Linked DNA regions of Homo sapiens: regions 2, 3, 4, 5, 6 and 7 are each linked to region 1. Evidence: promoter capture Hi-C in 16 types of primary human blood cells and fetal thymus (Javierre and others, 2016). All regions are on one chromosome and are shown on one strand. The core of a region is centred on a gene start or on the middle of the fragment in contact, and the rest is flanking DNA. Distances in the headings are between cores, read along the strand shown.

Evidence for each region. The method cuts DNA at HindIII sites, captures the fragments that hold promoters and counts their contacts. A CHiCAGO score of 5 or more calls a contact.
Region 2: a contact is called between a fragment that was not itself captured here and the fragment with the promoter of TRAPPC6B in region 1, in 8 of 17 cell types (naive B cells, monocytes, erythroblasts and 5 more). The highest score is 9.9, in naive B cells.
Region 3: a contact is called between the fragment with the promoter of SCFD1 here and the fragment with the promoter of TRAPPC6B in region 1, in 4 of 17 cell types (total B cells, total CD8 T cells, M0 macrophages and 1 more). The highest score is 9.6, in total B cells.
Region 4: a fragment that was not itself captured here is called in contact with the fragment with the promoter of TRAPPC6B in region 1 in 5 of 17 cell types (M0 macrophages, total B cells, non-activated CD4 T cells and 2 more); the score reaches 12.8 in M0 macrophages.
Region 5: a fragment that was not itself captured here is called in contact with the fragment with the promoter of TRAPPC6B in region 1 in 2 of 17 cell types (naive CD8 T cells and naive B cells); the score reaches 7.4 in naive CD8 T cells.
Region 6: a fragment that was not itself captured here is called in contact with the fragment with the promoter of TRAPPC6B in region 1 in 2 of 17 cell types (non-activated CD4 T cells and total B cells); the score reaches 8.2 in non-activated CD4 T cells.
Region 7: a fragment that was not itself captured here is called in contact with the fragment with the promoter of TRAPPC6B in region 1 in 5 of 17 cell types (naive CD4 T cells, non-activated CD4 T cells, naive CD8 T cells and 2 more); the score reaches 8.5 in naive CD4 T cells.

Annotation. Positions count from the first base shown.
Region 1 is chr14:39,168,901-39,171,870 of GRCh38, reverse strand. TRAPPC6B (trafficking protein particle complex subunit 6B) reads left to right here and starts at 1,538. Exons shown (of 6, transcript NM_001079537.2): 1 at 1,538-1,856. The coding sequence starts at 1,776. RefSeq lists enhancers at 311-900, 1,682-1,731, 1,491-2,080. The HindIII fragment of the contact is 6,900 bases long and covers 1-1,757 here.
Region 2 is chr14:45,127,727-45,130,569 of GRCh38, reverse strand. It overlaps FKBP3 (FKBP prolyl isomerase 3), which reads left to right. Exons shown (of 7, transcript NM_002013.4): 3 at 669-776. Among named protein-coding and RNA genes, the nearest start is that of FKBP3, 5.3 kb to the left of the region's middle. The HindIII fragment of the contact is 1,105 bases long and covers 728-1,832 here.
Region 3 is chr14:30,620,723-30,623,869 of GRCh38, reverse strand. SCFD1 (sec1 family domain containing 1) reads right to left here and starts at 1,551. Exons shown (of 25, transcript NM_016106.4): 1 at 1,471-1,551. The coding sequence starts at 1,531. RefSeq lists enhancers at 1,269-1,948, 1,018-2,217. The HindIII fragment of the contact is 1,359 bases long and covers 1,445-2,803 here.
Region 4 is chr14:45,240,488-45,243,424 of GRCh38, reverse strand. MIS18BP1 (MIS18 binding protein 1) reads left to right here. Exons shown (of 17, transcript NM_018353.5): 3 at 551-664; 4 at 907-1,391. Among named protein-coding and RNA genes, the nearest start is that of MIS18BP1, 11 kb to the left of the region's middle. The HindIII fragment of the contact is 547 bases long and covers 1,340-1,886 here.
Region 5 is chr14:45,259,252-45,262,120 of GRCh38, reverse strand. It overlaps LOC107984674 (a long non-coding RNA gene), which reads right to left. Exons shown (of 4, transcript XR_001750746.2): 2 at 177-310. Among named protein-coding and RNA genes, the nearest start is that of MIS18BP1, 7.5 kb to the right of the region's middle. The HindIII fragment of the contact is 1,506 bases long and covers 829-2,334 here.
Region 6 is chr14:45,144,322-45,147,459 of GRCh38, reverse strand. All of the region lies in intron 3 of FANCM (FA complementation group M), which reads right to left. Among named protein-coding and RNA genes, the nearest start is that of FANCM, 10 kb to the right of the region's middle. RefSeq lists enhancers at 2,347-2,456, 2,547-2,606. The HindIII fragment of the contact is 2,578 bases long and covers 344-2,921 here.
Region 7 is chr14:45,100,639-45,103,467 of GRCh38, reverse strand. PRPF39 (pre-mRNA processing factor 39) reads right to left here. Exons shown (of 14, transcript NM_017922.4): 5 at 772-939. Among named protein-coding and RNA genes, the nearest start is that of SNORD127, 8.8 kb to the left of the region's middle. The HindIII fragment of the contact is 1,421 bases long and covers 682-2,102 here.

The DNA.
Region 1 (2,970 bases), core at 289-2,788:
TGAATGGAATAAACTGATTCAAACATTAGAAGGGACATGCTTAAAAAAAAAACCTACCACAATTAAAATTTTGGAACATGATCTTAAATTCCTGTGAAAGGGCATGAAGAGTTTGTGTGTGTGTTTCGTTTTTTGAGACGAAGTCTTGCTCTGTCGCCCAGGCTGGAGTGCAGTGGCACAATTTCTGCTCGCTGCAACCTCTGCCTCCCAGGTTCAAGTGATTCTCCTGCCTCAGCCCCCCGAGTAGCTGGGATTACAGGCACCTGTCACCACGCCCGGCTAATTTTTGTATTTTTAGTGGAGACGGGTTTTCACCATGTTGGCCAGGCTGCTCTCAAAACTCATGACCTCGTGATCCCCCCCACCCCCCGTGCCTCGGCCTCCCAAAGTGCTGGATTTTACAGGCATGAGCCACCTTGCGGTATGTTAATTTGGGGGAAAACAACAGGGACAATTGGGGAAAAATTTTGTTTTGTGAATTACCAATGGAAGAACTAATCACAGGCTAAGCAACATGCTTACGGTTGAATTTGCCAAATTTAAGATGTACATACTATGATGTAGCATGTGTATTTATTTGCACATGCAGTGGGACAATTCCTACAGTTGTCTCACACTGCTGTAGATTATTAGCAACTCCATCCTGCAGTGACATCGCTTTTCTGAATTCTATAGCACTTTTCACCTAATCCTCTGATTAGTCTGTATTTTCCGGTTCAAGTGTATCTTGTTTTTCGTTTGCTCCACTTCCCTTGTCCCTTGCACCCCACTAACAGGAAAATTCCTGGTGGTCAAAATGGCTCTAATTCTTTTTGTATACCCGGGCTTAATTCAATAGGAATTGGGATAACTTTTCAATATTTAAAAAATTTGCACTGTGAAAACGTATATTTTAAACTCTTTCTACAACTTTTCATATTTGAAGAACATATGGCAGGAAGTGGATGCTTTTGATGAAGCCAAAAGAATTTTTTTAACTTCTATTGCTAATTAACAAGGAGGTGGCCGCGGGAGCTCTTTTTTTTTTTTTTTTTTTGAGACGGAGTTTCACTCTTGTTGCCCAGGCTGGAGTGCAGTGGCGCGATCTCAGCTCACCGCAACCTCCGCCTCCCGAGTTCAAGCGATTCTCCTGCCTCAGACTCCCGAGTAGCTGGGATTACAGGCATGCACCACCAGGCCCCGCTAATTTTGTACTTATAGTAGAGACGGGGTTTCTCAGGCTGGTTCGAACTTCCGACCTCATGTGATCCACCCGCCTCCGCCACCCAAAGTGCTGGGATTACAGGCGTGAGCCACCGCGCCCGGGCCAGGCGGGAGCTTTAGGTCTTATTTTATCTTGCTCTGCCCCCGACATCGTGGTGAGAGGGGAACCTTCCTCATATCTGGGCGCTGGCCTCTCCGGGCTTGGGAGAGAGGAACTCAGTGATCATAGAGCTGGCCGAATGCCGGGGTAGAGGGGACCGGAAGTTGTTTTTTTCGCCCCCGCCCAGCGGCCGGATCGCATCTCAGCTGGTTGGCTTTGGTTAGAGCTCCCGTCAGACTTTAGTTCGGCCCTAGGATTTGGTAGCCCCGAAGTGTGGGCTCTCTCCAGTACCAGACTCATTTCAGTACCAGCCTTTGGGAAGTCGTGTGAATACCTCGGTCTCTTAGCCACAGGGATAGAATGGCGGCCTGACGGAGCCGCGGCGCCGGCGAAGTCGCTGAGGCGCGAGCTGGAACCCCCAGACCAGCTCAAACGGGAGCCAAAACTCGAAGCTTGGAAGAATTAGCAGGAAATGGCGGATGAGGCGTTGTTTTTGCTTCTCCATAACGAGATGGTGTCTGGAGTGTACAAGTCCGCGGAGCAGGGGGAGGTGGTGAGTGCTGCCACACAACCTTGAGGTCCTTTTGCGGTGACACACCTTGTTTCCCCTCAGTGCTTTCCTTCAACCCCTGTCCCATCGCCACCCGACGCCTCCCGAGGTGTACACAAAATGGTCCACCTCCAGGTGTCCTAAACCCTAGAACCTGTCAGTTGTCTCCTTTGAACCGTCATCTTTCATCGTTTTCTCTTTCGTATCTTCTTCTATTTGATTCTCTTTTGTCTATTCCCGTACGTTTGTCTTGCACGCCACAGATTTTGGTACTTTTAGTGTTGTCCCTGCCATTATTTACGAGAGGGTTAACTGCAGAGCCTACTTAGTTTTGCTGGCACTTCCAGCACTTGAGCCATGCACTGGACAGACCTGTGCCAACCTGAGAAGCCTGTCCCTCCTTCCTCATTCCTAATGCTCAGTACAACTCCACACAACTTGAGACCTGAAGCCTAATGAAGGTTGAGTTTGCAAAGGAAAGTTTGCAGGCGTTAGGATAATTAGGGAACATAATTTAAATTAATTATTTCAGAAAGTATTTATTTAGTGCCCTTATGTCAGAGCGATTTCTAGGTGCCAGGGATATAGTAGTGAATGAAACAATGGCCCCATCCTTGTAGAGATTTTTTTTTAATCTAATTTAATCCGAAATGTGATAGTATGTAGCGGTTACTTCTAATATGTGGGAGTCCTTATTCAATCATTGTGGGCCTGTCACTGCTGACACTGCTAGATAAATTAAATAAAATAATACTCCTGCCTCACAGTATTTAGGGAATAGTGATTTAATGAATAGTTAACACTGAGTATTGGCTGGTAGAATCATGGAGTTGTAACGGATTTTAGAAATACTCCAAAGTCATGCTCAAGTCAGGAGCCCTTTCTTTAATGCTATTGATAAAAAATGAGTGGAGAGTGGGGATAGGAAATGTATCCTAGGCAAAGATAAAGTGGTAGAGGTATGAAAGAGTGGTGGATTTAAATACACTTAAGCATTTCTTTGGACTAGACTGAATAGAGAGTGAGAAGAATTGAGAGGTGAAGTTAGAAAGCTTTGTGTAATTAAAGAATTCGGATCTTTTCGAGGGAATATTTTTAAGGAAGGGAATGATGTGGA
Region 2 (2,843 bases), core at 31-2,530, 6.0 Mb before region 1:
CATAAGTGGACTAGCTGTCAAATCTAGCAAGGCTAATCTGCAGTATGGCAGAATGTTTCAGTATTTTCAAAGGGTCTGGATTTTGTAGCTTAAATTGAGACAACAAATTCTTAAGTCCACTGAAGTTATAAATTCATTAGGTCAGTGGTATTACCGTATTACTTTAGCATATGGTGTATATTAAATGTATTTTGTTGTTGTTTTATTATATATGTTAAATGTTATATTGAAAATAAGTTTCCATTTCACTAATGAATTTAAAGTCTGGTTTAGATTTAGGCTGAGCTTTACAAAAATACATTTTAAGACATTCTCCCACATTTGTTTACTATGAAATGAATATCTTCCACAGGAAAGAAATCTTTATTTAGGAGTTATTTGAATAGTGCTTATATCTCTGGGTATGAGTTGGCCTTTCTAAGGTCATGGTTCTCATTTCAGAATTTATATTGTAAGCTGGTTTGAGGGTAATCATTTATTGTTTAAAAATAAATTATGAGCAAAATTCTTTCTTTGCTCTTCGTTTCCTTAGACCATTTATTCACAATTGTGTTATACAACCTATATTTATTATGCAGATGTTCATTTAATTGAGAGGCTGAAAATCTTGATGTTGCTTCTTGGTTTTAGCCTGTCCTGGGTATGATGTTACAACATTTTCCTTACAGCGTTTTAAGGGTACTGAAAGTATAAGTAAAGTGTCTGAGCAAGTAAAAAATGTGAAGCTTAATGAAGATAAACCCAAAGAAACCAAGTCTGAAGAGACCCTGGATGAGGTCTGTATATAATTATTTTTTTATTTTATCATGTGGAGTCTAGAAATTGTATTTATTTCTTTATTATTTGCACTAACTTCTCATAGTGAAGGGTGGTTGAATACGACCACTTTCAATGAGCCAAACACTTAATGTAGTGGGCCATTTCCCTTAGGTGTACTGGGACAGAAATAATCCTAAGAACTAGTGCTTTACAGTTATTAGCCTATTCTGTGAAACACTTCTGATATTGTATTTAATATCGCCTCCACATCTGTCCAGACCTTCTGAGCTTTCAAAGCTATTTTAAGGCCTTGATTCTATAGCCAAGTTGGACTAAGTGAAATACATTTTCTTTTGATTATTTTTAGCTTTTTCTAATGTACATGGTGTCCCTGGCAATAGAAATAATCCAGGCTTGGCTGCAGGATGTGGGTTCATCTGTCTCAGTTTTCCCAACTCAGGTTTTATACTTTGGTACAAAGGTTTGAAGAACCAGATTAATTCATTCCTGCAAATTGACAGCCTTAGTAGAGCTAAGATCAGCTACTAAGAACTGACTTAGCAGAGCTGAATTGATTATAATCTTGTCATTTCTGATAATACCTTACTATCTAAGCTCACTCATTGCCAGCAGTCTTAGTATCAGTGATAATAATCTATTTTTAGTTCTTGTAAAGAGGTGAGGCTATTGATGACAGTGTAGCTTTTGGGTATTTGTGGAAAGTGTAAGTTCAGTTATACAATTATAGATGTTTATTTGATTAAAGCTAGTTAATTTTGCATGATCTTTTCCTATTGGCTAAAAAGCACAAATTAATGTTTATAGGTATATGTGCACACAAAGCAGTTTTAAAGTTTATCACAATTAATATTTAATAAATGTTATATCTATTGAGTAGCTACTAAGGTAAATGGAGCAATTATTATTGAAGGGTTTCAGAAGCAACTGGCAACATAGTTCACCCTCCAGGAAATTAGAATGAGGATGGTTTTAGGAGACAGATAATATTTCATTAAGGAGTTAAGAAAATAAAAGGTAAATTCATAAGAGCTAGAGACAATCTAGAGCAAGCTTATGAGGGTCCTAAACTCTATCATTTTATTTAAAACCTCTTCGTTTAACTGGCCAGCTTGAGCCCATTTATGTACTGTGACTGTTTTCCTAGCGTCCTACATTCAAAAGCCTCTTGTCCATTTCCTTGCTAACCCTCGTTGTCTACTCTCTGTCTTCATGCTTTGGGACTGGAGAGCAGGCATTATAAACATATAATCATAAAACCTTTTATTGAGCCTGGTATAAATTCATGCTTAATATTAGCCAAGCATGTTTTCTAGTTTCATTGCTACTCAACAACATTTATACTATCCTTTGCCCAGTTCTCCATCACATTGCTCATTGCTCACATAAAGTATTTGACATTTTCTCACAAATTCTCAGTCCCTTCTTACTCCTTTCTCTTTTTTTGTTTTTGTTTTTGTCTTTGAGACAAAGTCTCACCCAGGCTGGAGTGCAGTGGTGCCATCTTGGTTCACAGCAACCTCCCCCTCCTGGGTTCAAGTGATTCTCCTGCCTCAGCCTCCCCAGTAGCTGGGACTCCAGGCAGGCGCCACCATGCCCAGCTGATTTTTGTATTTTTAATAGAGACGCAGTTTCTCCATGTTGGCTGGGCTGGTCTTGAACTCCTGACCTCAAGTTATCCGCCCACCTAGGCCTTCCAAAGTGTTGGGATTACAGGCGTGAGCCACTGCCCCTGGACTCCCTTCTCATTATATGCTCCTGTGTTCTGTAGTGCCAAAATGTGAATGTCTAGCCATTGCCATTCCCTTCTTCTGAGCTTAAAATTTCTCTGAATCTTTGCGTCCCTTTTTCTTTCTCATGTCTCCTTCAGGACTAATGCTCTCAAACATCTTCCTTTTATTTTAAACGTTCATTCCTTTTCCATTTTCAAGCATTCGAAGCAAGGCCTCATACCCAGAATGTTAAAAACGTTGTTCATTTCTTGCCTCCCTTCTCTTTCTTTATCCAGTCAGCAACAAAATGGGTATTCTAATAAGATTTCTAAAACAATACTTTGCAAACCACAC
Region 3 (3,147 bases), core at 302-2,801, 8.5 Mb after region 1:
AATTCTGCATTATAATATATATACAAGGATTTACCTTCCTCTGAAAATAAGGCAGAATTCAATGACAGTAAAAATTTGATAAAAAATAGATCTAGCACTACCTAGTAATTCTGTAAAATCTTACTATGTTTATTTCTGCAGAAATACAAACGATTAGATTTTAATGATCTACAAAATTTCTGCATACAAGTTTACGGCCACGCAAATTTATTTTTCAAAAAGCTCTCTTGTATTGGTACAGTTTTACTGACACGTTATTTTAATATGTAGTATAGTCATCAGAAACACAGTATTAAAACAAATGGAGCTTCCATTTGTTTAAACATATACAACGAATGGCAGGTATGCCCCAAATCTTATTTGAACTTCCCTATATTTAGTTATGCCTGACTTCACCTGATAGGTTATACTAAATTATTTACTGGGAAAAGCAGAACGCAACTCAGTATCTTTTGTGTGTCATTACTAAATTGAAGTCTATCACTTTTTCTTTAAATGCCAAAGGAAGGAATCAAGTACAGCCCAAATCCCTTCTGTAGGTCATATGAATTATAAATTTATTTTCCTATTCATATTTATATCCAACAGAGCATAATTTCAGGAAACAGAATTCCAAGTATGCACATTCTTGATGCCTTATTTCTATTAGCTCCTCAGAATAAATTGCTTGAAAACTTTTAAGACAACTAGTTAACAAGTATAAACCTTTAGTTTGTAGCTAACAGGTATAAACCAAGTTGTCATGAGAAGTTTTCAAGTAAGGCAAAACTAATTTCTAAGACGGAAAAAAACCCAAAACTCAAGAGAAGAATATGTGCCTTTTTACATTTCTCTGCATAAATAGAAGCTATATAAACATGCTCTATTGAAGATAAAATATTATTTTAAAACAATGTGTCAAACAATTAAAATGAGAAAGCTATTAATTCATTTGTTTTGCCATTCTTCAATGCCTTCCAGCAAGCTGAAGGAGAAAATGTTTATCACCAGGCATTTTTCTGCAGGTACCCCCAAAAGACTGGTCCGAAGTAGAGAAGTGGCGCAAAGCAAGCCGCTGTGAAAATACCTAAATTCTCTGAGTGTCAGAAAATGGGAGTTCTCTTAAAAATCAAAACCAGGAGAACTGAACCACGCACAGAAACTCGGAGACCTCATAGGTGGCAACATAGATAAGAAGCTATCAGCTGCTAGATCTTGTTGTGATGGCCTTCTGATGCCCACTAGGAAGGAGACAAGAGCAGGGCCGTAGCAATCCGCCCACCGCTGAAGCTCCTTCTCCTGCACCACAGGAGGAACCGAGTCCTCAAGCTAATGGCAACTTCTCCCCAAAAACTCAAAGGGGAGGGGCTCTTGATGTTCTAGGGACTGGATTAAACTCCTGGAGATCGGTCTCTGAGCTGCACGCACCAGAGGAGAAGGATGTCGTCGGGGCAGTCACGAAGCTTCAAGGAGAAGAGAATAAGTCAGTACCTGTCTGCCTTTCCCGAATACTGGCTGCTGCTGCTGCTGTCGCTGCCGCCGCCGCCGCCATCTTGGCTCCCACGAGCCACTGCCCGGCTGGGGAGCGGAGCGGGGGGATGACGTGGCTGCCCTTACCGCCCCGGAAGCAAAGCCCGGAAGGGCGGGGCCAAAGGGTGTGCCTGAGTTCCGGACCCCACCTCCTCCAGGAAGACCTCCACTCTCGGTAGAACTGGGAGACCCGGTGCAGGTTAATTCAGTGGCCCGTAATGTTAGGCGAATACTAAGAGTTTTTATCCTACCGAATCAAGCCACACTCTCTCAAATGGTAGCAACATTAAATTGAGCTGTTAGGGTAGGAGCGTGTAGTGCTAAGAACCTAATTACTGAACTGTTGGTTTGGTGACTTACAGAGCACTTAAAGGGTGATAATGCTCTAGGAGTATAAGGACCACAGGACTGAAGTAAATGAAGCTCCTGAAACACAGGCAACATTTTAACGTTAGCTCTCGTTTCTCAGTGCAGCAGGAGTCTTCCCTTTGCTCCTTTCTCCAGAGAAACGGAAAGCATTGGAGCATTACTCTGATCTGGCATATTTCTCAGTCGCATCTCTTTAAAAAAAAAGGTGTAGCTTTATGGTGGCGTTCTGCCGGCATGGACACGGGATCCAGGGAGGTACAAAATGAGAAATTAGCATTTCTCCTCTTTCCTTGTAGTAATTGCAAAATCACCTTGCCGTGGGAAGGAAGTCAAGCAGTAGTGGGGTGTGTTGCCTAGGCTGGAGCGCGCAATCAGGGATCACTGCAGCCTCAAATTCTGACGGTCAAACGATCCTCCTGCTTCAGTCTCCCAAGTAGCTAGGGACTACAGGGGCACACCATCAGGCCAGGCTGATGTGCTGGTTTTTGTTGTTGTTTTGTTTTTGAGATAGTATCTCACTGTCTGTCGCTCAGGCTGGAGTGCAGTGGCAGAATCTCGGCTCACTGTAGTCTCGACCTCCCGGACTCAAGCGATCCTCCCAAACTATCCTTCCACCTCAGACTGCCCACTAGTTGGGACTATAGGCAGGGGTCACCACGCCCGGCTAAATTTTTTTTTTTTTTTTTTGTAGAGACGGGGATTCACCATGTTGGCCAGGCTGGTCTTGTGCTGGCGGTTTAATGTACACTTGAAGCCACGTGACCGCAAAATATATGGGATAGATGATTTCTAACTTAATCCATAGATTTTACTGTATGACCAAAATGGATACACAATGACACCTCATTTCCCGAGTTCATTGATGACGCTTCATTATGAAGTTGCACCAAATTCTGAAATGAAATCACTCTGTACCTCAAAAGCTTAACTTTCACAATTATATAAATGAAATGGTTAGCCTAACGATTATATATTGTTTTATAGTGTGAAACACTGGCTTTTTTCATTAATAAAAATTTATTTTTGTGACATTTAAAACAGGTTATCTTATTACATAATCTCTGCCGGGTGCGGTGGCTCACGCCTGTAATCCCAGCACTTTGGGAGGTAGAGGTGGGCAGATCACCTGACGTCAGTAGTTCGAGACCAGCCTGGCCAACATGGTGAAACCCGGTCTCTACTAAAAATACAAAATTAGCCGGGTGTGGTGGTGGGCGCCTTTAATCCCAGCTACTGGGGAGGCTGAGGCAGGAAGAACTGCTTGAACCT
Region 4 (2,937 bases), core at 364-2,863, 6.1 Mb before region 1:
TTGAGAAACCTACAACTTCTGAGCATTTGAAGGCCTACTAAAAATTGTCTAAAGGATATAAATTATGGCTGAGTCTGCTGTTGCATCTCAACATTTTAATTTTTAAAGAATAAGTTACAATTCTTCGACTATCTTTCATGCTTTAGAAATTCACAGCAACCAGAAACAGAATCGGAATTTTCAAGACTGGGTGAAACTTTATATTGTAATCTTAACATATACATATCCAATTTGTGGCAGCACCAGAATTTCAGATCTCTAGGTTTCTAAGTCCAATACTTTTGTCTAGAGCTGGCGGGTTGTGTTCAGAGAAGGTTTTAAAAAATTCTTCCTCACCGTAATGTTGGTATAGAGAATGGGGTAAAGGTATGAGAAGATAATACAGCCAAAAATATAAAAATATATGTAACTGTCATATATTGCAAAAGTACTATACTGGTCTGATCATTACTAAATCTAAGTGTCTTTATTTCAAGAATTTTAAAAGCTGTTTTTTTCTTAGTGACTAATACAATTCAACTTCTTCTTTCTTTAAAAAATAAAACCTTAGCCTCAGTCCAAGGAGTTCCTCTAGAATCATCAAATAATGATATTTTCCTCCCGGTCAAACAAAAGATTCAGTGCCAGCAGGAAAAGAAAGCACCACTGCACAATTTAACTTACGGTAAACTATTTTTGGTTTGTTTTCAGTTTGTTACTTAAGTATATTGTTAAATGTTCTAGGTAATTACTTTCCTTGTGTGGGCATTAAACTTTAGCTGTGGACAAAAGCTTGAATCGTAAAAGAGACACTCAGAGAAAGACTGGGCAGGAGGGTGGAACGTTCCTAACCTAAATTTATCTCTTTTAATTTCCTGTGATCCTTCTATAATTGTTTTGTTTTGTTTTGTTTTGTATTTTTTGCAGAACTTCCAACTCTGAACCAAGAACAGGAAAATTTTTTGGCTGTAGAAGCCCGAAACAAGACATTAACTAGAGCTCAGTTGGCTAAACAAATTTTTCACTCAAAGGAGAGTATAGTTGCAACCACTAAATCCAAAAAGGACACGTTTGTTTTAGAAAGCGTTGATTCTGCTGATGAACAATTTCAAAATACTAATGCTGAGACTCTCAGTACTAATTGTATTCCTATTAAAAATGGCAGCCTGTTAATGGTTTCTGATAGTGAGAGGACAACAGAAGGGACTTCGCAACAGAAAGTTAAGGAAGGAAATGGAAAAACAGTGCCTGGAGAGACAGGTCTTCCAGGTTCCATGAAAGATACATGTAAAATTGTACTTGCAACACCAAGACTTCATATAACAATACCTCGGAGGTCAAAAAGAAATATTTCAAAGCTTTCTCCTCCAAGAATATTTCAAACTGTTACAAATGGACTTAAAAAAAATCAGGTGGGAAAACTTTTAAGACAGATATTTATTTCTATTTTTACCCCGTTCTTCAAGAGCTTGAGCTTTTAATGTTCTCTCATTATTTTTTTTCTAGCTAGGATTTGAACCTGTATGCTTCATTATTAACAGTGTCTTCATTATCATGTTTTATTATTTACTGCAGTGACAGTGTGACATAGTGAAAAGAACAGTGAGTTGAATGTAAGAAGACCCACATGTTAAGTCTTATTTTGCTCTATTACTAGTTGTGTAGTCTTCAATAATTTACTTGTTCCTTTTGGTGATGAACATTGAATTCATTCCTACTCTTTTTTTTCTGATACTTACAGTACTATTAAAATAGTTAGATTAATTAAGATAGAAAGGAACTGTAGCATCTGAAGATTTGAGAATTTTTCCCAAATTAAATACAGAGTAATCAATGAAAGACTTTAGAGCATTAAACTGTTACATTAGGACAAATTCTCTGAAGGAAGTGGAATGGAAATACAAGCTTAAGGAGGAAGATGCAGTGTAAAATTTCCAATTGTTAGAGGTTTGCCCATTAATTAATTAATTATTTTTGAGCTGGAGTCTTCCTCTGTCACCCAGGCTGGAGCACAATGGCGTGGTCTTGGCTCACTGCAACCTCCACTTCCTGGGTTCAAGCGATTCTCCTACTTCACCCTCCTGAGTAGCTGGGATTACAGGCGCCTGCCACCATGCCCAGCTAATTTTTGTGTTTTTAGTAGAGACGGGGTTTTACCGTGCTGGCCAAGCTGGTCTCTGACTCCTGACCTCAAGTGATCCTCCCGCCTCGGCCTCCCAAAGTGCCGGGATTAGAGGCGTGAGCCACTGCATCCAGCCATTAATTCTTAAATGTATGATGGTGGTTATCAAGTTGAGATCATGTATAAATTCCATCTAAATTTTAATTAATAATTAATTTTTTAAATGAGGCCTTACTCTGTTGCCCAGGCCAGCCTTTTGGGCTCAAGCAATCCTCCCACTTAAGCCTCCCTTGTAGCCATCTAAATTTTAAAGAGTGACATACCAGTTATGGTTTTATATCTCAATATATTCGCTAGAAATCCCATTATTGGAAAATATTTAAACTTTATTTATTTATCTATCTATTTATTTATTTATTTTGGAGACAGAGTCTCACTCTGTCACCCAGGCTGGAGTGCAGTGGCACAATCTCAGCTCATTGCAACCTCCGCCTTCCAGGTTCATGCAAATCTCCTGCCTCAGCCTCCTGAGTGGCTGGGACTACAGGCACATGCTGCCATGCCCGGCTAAATTTTTTTTTTTTTGGATTATTCTCATTAACATATAAACATGTTGAAACATGGCCTGCATTTTTTAAAAACATGCAAACAAAGGCCCATCTTTCCTTTATCCCCTGTCCAACTCCAGCTGCTACACTACTTTTTGTTTCCCTTATATAGCAAGACATTTGAAAGAGGTCTGTGTATTCATGGTTGGAGTTGAGAAGAATATTCTGTGCTGGAAACATATTGGAGAGCTATCAGCATAGAGATGGAATTTAAAACTATGACACTGG
Region 5 (2,869 bases), core at 332-2,831, 6.1 Mb before region 1:
ACTGTAGGATGACAATAGTTACTAAGAATATAATTTCAGGCCACACATGGTGGCTCACACTTGTAATCCCAGCACTCTGGGAGGCTGAGGAGGGTGGATCGCTGGAGCCTGGAAATTAGAGACCAGCCTAGGCAACATGATGAAATCCCATCTCTACCAAAAAATACAAAATTTACCTGGGCATGATGGTATGTGCCTGTTGTCCCAGCTAATCCTGAGGCTGAGATGGAAGGATCCTTTGAGCCTGGGAGGCAGAGACTGTAGTGAGCCAAGATTGTGCTACCACACTCTAGCTTGGGCGACAGAGACCCTGTCTCAAAAAGAAAAAAGAAAAAAGAAAAAAAAATAAATATAATTTCAAACAGCAAAAAAAAGACACTGAATGTTTCCAACACCAGAAGAAGATAAATGTTTGAGATCATGGATATGCTAATTAACCAGATCTGATCACCAAGCATTACATGTATAAAAACATCACCATGTACCCCATGAACATGTACAATAACTATTTGTCAATTAAAAAATTTAAAAGAGGAAATGTTCTTGTACAAAAGCTTTGCAGCATTTTTGATTGCCCTTATTGACCCCCCCCATAGGAAAAGAGCCTGTTGCATGACAAGAGTGATGCCACCTTGAAGTGAAACTACCATGATGACCATGATGACTCCTGCAGCAAGGTCTTTAAGAATGCCTGTAACATGGAAAACGTCTCATAAATAAACAATCCCTGTAGCATAAATAAAGATGCTTATCTAATCTCCCCAGTAGTCACGTTTCACAAGAAAGTCTGAAGCATGACAAGCTACACAAATCTTTACCCTAAAAGCTTGCTTTACAAAGGATATTTTCTGGAGGGCAGGTAGAGGGATCCACCATCTCATGCCCACCCAAGACATTGCTTCTGTTCATAAGTCCTATTAAATGTTTCTTTCTGAAGAACGGGATTTTTCAGCTTGCTTTCTTCAGCATCTCAGCACCTTTGGCAGCAGTCTTGAAGACAGCACCCATTTCCAGTGTGGGACCTTGGTCCCTGGTTGTGGAGGGAGCACAGACCTTATGCTTAGAGAATTGTGTTTGTCTGTTCTAACTTATTTGGCAGTGTATTAGTCTGGATTCTCCAGAGAAACACAACCAACAGGAAAGAGGGAATGAGAGAGAGAGAGAGAGAAAGAGAGAGAGAATAAAAAAAAGAGAAAGAGATTGATTTACTACAAGGAATTGGCTCATTGAAGTATTGAAGGTTGAGAAACCCAAGATCTGCATCAGTAAACTAGTGACCCAGGAGAGTCAATGGTATAGTTCCAGTCCAAGTGTATTAGTCTGTTCTCACAATGCTAATAAAGATATACCCAAAACTGGGTAATTTATAAAGGAAAGGGGTTTAATTGACTCACAGGTCAGCATGGCTGGAGAGGCCTCAGGAAACTTACAATCATGGTGGAATGGGAAGCAAACACATCCTTCTTCACATGGCAGTGGCAAGGAGAAGTGCTGAGCAAAAGTGAGAAGAGCCCTTATAAAACCATTGGCTCTCATGAGAACTCACTATCACAAGAACAAGCATGGGGGTAACCGCCCCCATGATTCAATTACCTCCCATCAGGTCCCTCCCATGACATGTGGGGATTATGAGAATGACAATACAAGATGAGATTTTGATGGGGACACAGCCAAACCATATCACCAAGTACGAAGGCCTGAGAAACAGGAGAACAAATGCTGTAAGTTCAAGTCCAAGAATGAGTCCAAAGGCAGAAGACTAAAGTCCTAGCTCAAACATATTCTGGCCAAAAGAAAGAATTCTTTCTTACTCAGCCTTTTATTTTATTAAGGCCTTCAACAGACTGGATGAGGCTCATCCATGCTGAGAAGAGCAATCTGCTTTACTCAGTCCAATCCAAAAATGAATCTCATCCAAAAACACCCTCACAGACAAACTAAGAAAAAAATGTTTAGCCAAACATCTGGCAATCCATGATGCAGTCAAATCGACACATAAAATTTACCATCAGAGAGTACTACTTGAAAGAATGACAGAAGGCACCTGACTTTGTTTTACATAACTTGAAACCTATTCAGCATGAAAAAAAAACAGCTACACAAAAGACATTCCTCAAAAACATTGTAAGACAAATGGACAACATGCTGCCACCTAGGACAAAGAATTACAATTGAGGCAAATAATAGATGCAGTGAAAGCCTGCAAGGAAAAGCTGGGTAGAGTTTCTCTGGGAAATTATTCAAAAGTGTCTCCATATACTGAGGAATTTAGAAGCTATGCACGTGCCTAGGACAGGATGCATGTTCAAAAACAATCTAAAAAGACCCTAAGCTTTTACTTCTGGCTTATCTTTGGGCTCAGCACAAGCAGGGAGTGAAGGCTTAGGCAGAGTTATAAATGGCCTCGCTAAGTACTGAAAGCATGCTCTAACACACAGCCAATCTTCAAAGGTTGGAAGAGGGTTTTTTGTTGTTGTTGTTGTTGTTGTTGTTTCTTTCTTTTCTTTTATTACTTTATTCTATTCTAGGATAGCTCCTGGTGATCAGGAAAATATCTATCAAAGCACCCCTGAACACAAGCTAAAGGAATAGAGACATCAGAGACCACACAGGACAAAGAATACAGACTTTACAAAGATCATATAGAAAAGTCACTAAACAAGCAAACAACTATATTTCACAGGAAGCAATAACAACAACAACAAATCCTAAGAAGAGAGAAGAATCTGATGTCCAGAGTTAGCATATTTTAATATTCAAATGTCCAGTCTCCAGCAAAAACATTATGAAGCATGCAAAGAAACTAGAAAGTATGGTTTATTTACAGAAGAAATTAATATAAGCTCTCCCTAAAGAAGCACAAACACTG
Region 6 (3,138 bases), core at 383-2,882, 6.0 Mb before region 1:
AAAATGACAATTGCTGGCGAAGTGGCAAGCACCTGCTGAAGTATCACTTGAACACAGGAGTTCTAGGCTGCAGTGAGTGAACTACAGTTGCGACTGTATTCCAGCCTGGGTGACAGGGCAAGACCCTGTCTCCAAAAAAAAAAGAAAGAAAGAAAAAGAAAAGAAAAAAAGAAAGCTTTGAGGGCTTGGTTTTGGGGGGGGCGGGGAACAGCCTGGGGCAAGAATCATATCTTGGTATTCCCAATACCTGGCGCAGTGCCCAATACGGCACACCATAATCACTGGCGGCCTATACGTATTCAAAATCTAGAATACATTTGTGACCATTTTATAAAATTAAGCTTATTGCTTTTAATAGTTCATTCATGAAAGAAATACATGAGTAACTCCCACATGCCAGGTATTGAGTTAATGACAGAGAAACGACCAAAATCGGCATAATCCCTACATTCATGTAGCTGATATTTTACTGGCGCTGAAAGACCAAAATAATCAATACGCAAAAGAATGACCAATTATCACAAATGTTAAGAAGAAAATAACAAAATAAGGAACACTGACAAGATAGCTTAGTTAGAATAGACCTTTCTGAAGGGATGACTTTTTTTTTTTTTTTTTTTTTTTTTTGAGACAGAGTCTTGCTCTGTCGCCCAGGCTGGAATGCAGTGGCGCGATCTCGGCTCACTGCAAGCTCCGCCTCCCAGGTTCACGCCATTCTTGCGCCTCAGCCTCCCGAGTAGCTGGGACTACAGGTGCCCACCACCATGCCCGGCTAATTTTTTGTATTTTTTTTAGTAGAGACGGGGTTTCACCATGTTGGCCAGGATGGTTTCGATATCCTGACTTCGTGATCCACCCGCCTCGGCCTCCCAAAGGGGGATGACATTTTTAAGCTGACTGAAAAACATGAATGTTTAAACGAGGTCAGGGAGAAAACCAGAGATAGGATAGAATTTCTAAGCTCATCAAAAAAAAGGATAGAAGAAAAAAGTCTTGCAGCTTGCAAGAGTTAAAAGCTATCATTGGAAGCATGGAGCAAGATGGAAATACAGATAATCGCCCACACAGAACATCAAATTTGACAACTATCTACACAAAAAAAGCACCTTCATAAGAACCAAAAATCAAGTGAGCAATCACAGTACCTGGTATTCACTTCATATTGCTAAAAGAGGCACTTTGAGGTAGGAAACACAATCCTTTTTTTTTTTTTTTTTTTCAGACGGAGTCTCACTCTGTCACCCAGGCTGGAGTGCCATGCCATGATCTCGGCTCACTGCAAGCTCTGCCTCCCGGGTTCACGCCATTCTCCTGCCTCAGCCTCCCGAGTAGCTGGGACTACAGGTGCCCACCACCACGCCCGGCTAATATTTTGTATTTTTTTTTTCTTTTTTTTTTTTTGAGACGGAGTCTCGCTCTGTGGCCCAGGCTGGAGTGCAGTGGCGGGATCTCGGCTCACTGCAAGCTCCGCCTCCCGGGTTCACGCCATTCTCCTGCCTCAGCCTCCCAAGTAGCTGGGACTACAGGCGCCCGCCACTACGCCCGGCTAATTTTTTGTATTTTTAGTAGAGACGGGGTTTCACCGTTTTAGCCGGGATGGTCTCGATCTCCTGACCTCGTGATCCGCCCGCCTCGGCCTCCCAAAGTGCTGGGATTACAGGCGTGAGCCACCGCGCCCGGCCATTTTTTTGTATTTTTTAGTAGAGACGGGGTTTCACTGTGTTAGCCAGTGTGGTCTCGATCTCCTGACCTCCTGATCCGCCTGCCTTGGCCTCCCAAAGTGCTGGGATTACAGGTGTGAGCCACCACGCTCAGCCAGGAAACACAATCTTGAATCATGGACACCACCCCTCCCTCATCCCCCAGAGGCCCTGTGGTGTGGAGAAAGAATCTAAGAACCTGGGGGAAGGAGAGTGCAGTTTCTGGGAGACTGTGCATTGAACTAAGTGTTGCTCTGTCACAGTGAAAAGCAAAACCAGGTGGAACTCAGTCAATGCCACCACAGAAGGAGAATTTAGACCAGCCCTAGCTAGAAGGGAATTCCCCATCCTAGTGGTTGGAACTTAAGTTCCTGCAAATGCTCTGGAGACGATGAACATGGGGGGCACGTGACCTAGTGAGACACCAGGTGGGACAGTTAAAGGAGTGATTGCACCACCCTTCATTCAACCCCAGTCTGGGCAGCTCACATAAACGAAAGTGACTCCTTCCTTCTGCTTGAGGAAAAAAGAGGGAAGAGTAAAGAGGACTTTGTCTTGCATCCTGGATATCAGCTCAGCCACAACAGGACAGGGCAGAGTCATGAGGTCTCCGTTCCTGACCCTAGCTCCCTGACAACTTTTCTAGACGTACCCTGGGCCAGAAGGAAACCCGCTACCTTGAAGGGAAGAACACAGTCCTGGCAAGATTCATTACCTGCTGACTAAAGAGCCCTTGGGCCCTAAATAACCATCAGCAATACCCAGGTAATATGTCATGGGCCTTGGGTGAGACTCTTAGACATGCTGGCTTCCAGTGAAACCCAGCACATCTCTAGCAATGATGGCTATGATGAGAAACTTCTGCTTGAGAAAAGCAGAAGTAAAGGAGACTTTGTCTTACACCTCAGGTACCAGCTCAGCCACAGTGGGGAAGGGCAACAAATGGGCTCTTGGGGACCTGATTCCAGGCCTTGACTCTTGAACAGCATTTCTGAAACTGTCCCAGGCCAGAGGGGAACCCACTTCTCTGAAGGGTGAGTCCCAGGCCTGGCAGCATTCAGCACAAGCTGACTGAAGAGTCCTTGGGCCTTAAATGAAAATCAGCAGTAGACTGGCAGTACACCTCATGGGCCTATGGTAGTGGTGACCATGGGGAGAGGCTCCTCTGCCTGTGGAAAGAAAGAGTGAGAAGGACTTCATCTTGTGCTTTGAGTGCAAGCTTAGCTGCAGTAGTATAGAGCACAAGGTAGATTTCTAAGGTTTCTGACTCTAGTTTCTGGCTCCTAGATGGCATCTCTGGACTTGCCCGGGGCCTGGAGGAACTTGCTGACAAACTTCACACGTTCTAACTTTTTAGTGGGAGCTAAAAATTAAAGTAATTGAACTCATAGAGATAGAGAGTAGAAGGATGATTACAGAGGCTGGGAAGGGTAGTGGG
Region 7 (2,829 bases), core at 143-2,642, 5.9 Mb before region 1:
AAAAATTATAACAAAAAATAGAAAATACTAAGTTTATACAATACTACTCATAAAAATTATAACAAAAAATAGAAAACATGCCAATTTAAAAGCAAAGACACAGTCCTCATACTCGTTCAGAAAGACTTTCTGGATCCTTATTTATGGGATACTCTGAATAAAGCAGAAAACAGAACACAAAAATAATGACACAGAATTAGTTGTTTTAACAGTAATCATTAAAATAAAAGGATACCAATTGTAACAGAAAAATCATTTTAGAAAATTAAAATGGAATGATACCTGAGTGTTTGAAAATAGATACTACTTACTATATAAAATGCATCCTTCACTGTTTTGGATATAAGGTGTTATAGCAATCACAATAATGTATATTTAGCAAATCATTAAGTTTCAAAAAAAATAAGCATCTATCATGTGCCAGGCACTGTGTCAATTTAATGCCATAAATAAATAACTCAACTTAGGTACTATTTTCTCATTCCTTCATTACTCTGAACTACCTTAGACAAGACAGAATTCCTGTTTCTCTTTATCCATTAAAATGAATAAGGAGAAACTTCTATCTAAAAACAGTAAAATTTCTAAACATTTCATAAGGCATATGAAAAAATGTCAAAAGCAAGCATGTAGGTTGTGATTAGCAACAAAATTTATTCCTCTTTCCACATAATAAAAGCTTACATAACATTCCAAGATAATTATAATACTTAATATTACCAACTATCTGAGTAATCAAAGATGTTTCAATGATCAGAATTTCCCACCTACCTCTGAAAATGATGACTATACAGCTGTGTTGGAATACCAAGAATACGATCATATATAGCTGTAACTTCTCTCAGGTTTCCCTGCTCATTTTCCCAGTTTATATACATTTCCCACAGTCTGTCAGAACGGAAATCTGTTCCTGCAGCTAGAACAGCATGCTCAAAAGTTCTGAAAAATTAAATTACTCTTAAGTTATCTTTCCAAGATAAAATCACTTTTAAAATATTATTTCTAAATTTAGAAGATAATGCTAACTTCAAAAATTATATTCAACTGCTTCCTATGCAAGTAGGGATTAAAGGGTAGACAGAATAACAGAAAGCATACAACAGCTGCTTAAAAAGAGTGAGAAAACAAAGAGAATAGATAAATGTACTTTTTATGTAACTTTATCAAATAGAAAATTAAATACAAAATGTACACATTGCAAATAGGTAAGAGTAGACATGTAAGTATTTGTTAAATCTGAAATGTCTATTGTATAGATTGATTTATGACAGAAGACAAAATTAAAACAAGTAGGAAGTTAAAGAGAGGCAAATTTTATCTCAATTTAAGAATATTTTCATGAGGCATGGTGAAATGGTTACAGGCGTGATTACAGGCTCATGCCTGTAATCGCAGCACTTAGGGAGGCTGAGGCGGGAGGATCACCTTAGGTCAGGAGTTCAAGATCAACATGGCCAACATGGTGAAACCCCATCTCTACAAAAATACAAAAAATTAGCCAGGCATGGTGGCACATGCCTGTAGTCCCAGCTACTTGGGAGGCTGAGGCAGGAGAATTGCTTGAACCCGGCAGGCGGAGGTTGCAATGAGCCAAGATTGCACCACTGCACTCCAGACTGGGCGACAGAGCGCGACTCTGTCTCAAAAAAAAAAAAAAAGTATACATATACTTTAAACCTCTCAAAAGCCCCTCTCAATTCTAAAATTCTATCATTAAAGTTTTATCACAGGCTGGGCACGATGGCTCACACCTGTAATTCCAGCACATGAGGCCAGGAGTTTGAGACCAGCCTTGCCAACACGGCGAAACCCCATCTCTACTAAAAATACAAAAATTAGCCAGGCGTTGTGGTGCACATCTGTAATCCGAGCTACTCGGGAGTCTGAGGCATGAGAATCACTTGAACCTGGGAGGCGAAAGTGGCAGTGAGCTGAAATTGCACCACTCAACACTGCACTCCAGCCTGGATGACAGAGCAAGACTCTGTCTCCAAAGAAAAAAAAAAAGTTTGTTACAAAGTATTTTAAAATACCTAGTCATGTCAAGAGATTTCTGTAAGCAATTTTAATCACTGGATTTAATACTCCAATGGGATAAAGCTTTTAGATACATACTTTCAAGATAAGTATCTTAGAATCAAGAGAGATTTTTAAAAAGTATAAAACTACACTCCCCTAAGTTAAACCACAATTTTAACACAATTTCAATAAAGCGCTAAAAAATGTTTAGTGGAACAAGAAAAAATCAAATTCTACTATTCATCTAGAATACAAAAATGCAAAATGACTTTGTAAAAGGATAATGCAGCAGGCATTTTCCTGAAAGATAATATAAGAAACTAGGAAGCTATAGTAATTACACGTTTGGCACTGGCCAGGTAACAGAAAAATGGATGAACAGTACAGAGCCAAGAAAACAAAAAAGAGATCAATGTGTGTGAGTATTTGGTGTATGATATAGGAGATACTTTAATTCAACAGTGGGAGTATATAAAAGGCTAATGTCTATCTCACGACAGATAGAAATTAAATTCAGATAAATGAATAAGCAAAAAACTATAGAAAAGTTAGAACAAAATACAGGATTTATATATTTTTGGTAAAATAGGCACAAAACTCAGGAACCAGTAAGAATTAAAACAGAAGCACATTAAGGAAAAATAAAACTCCATATGATAAAAGACACCATAAACAAAGTTAAAAACATACCAACATTGGAGGAAATATGTTTAATATAGAAATAAAAGATTGAAGAGCATGTGTGTCTGTGCATGCATGCATGTGCATATTTGGTGTAAGGTTTTCAAAAGAATAAAATAGATGTTACTG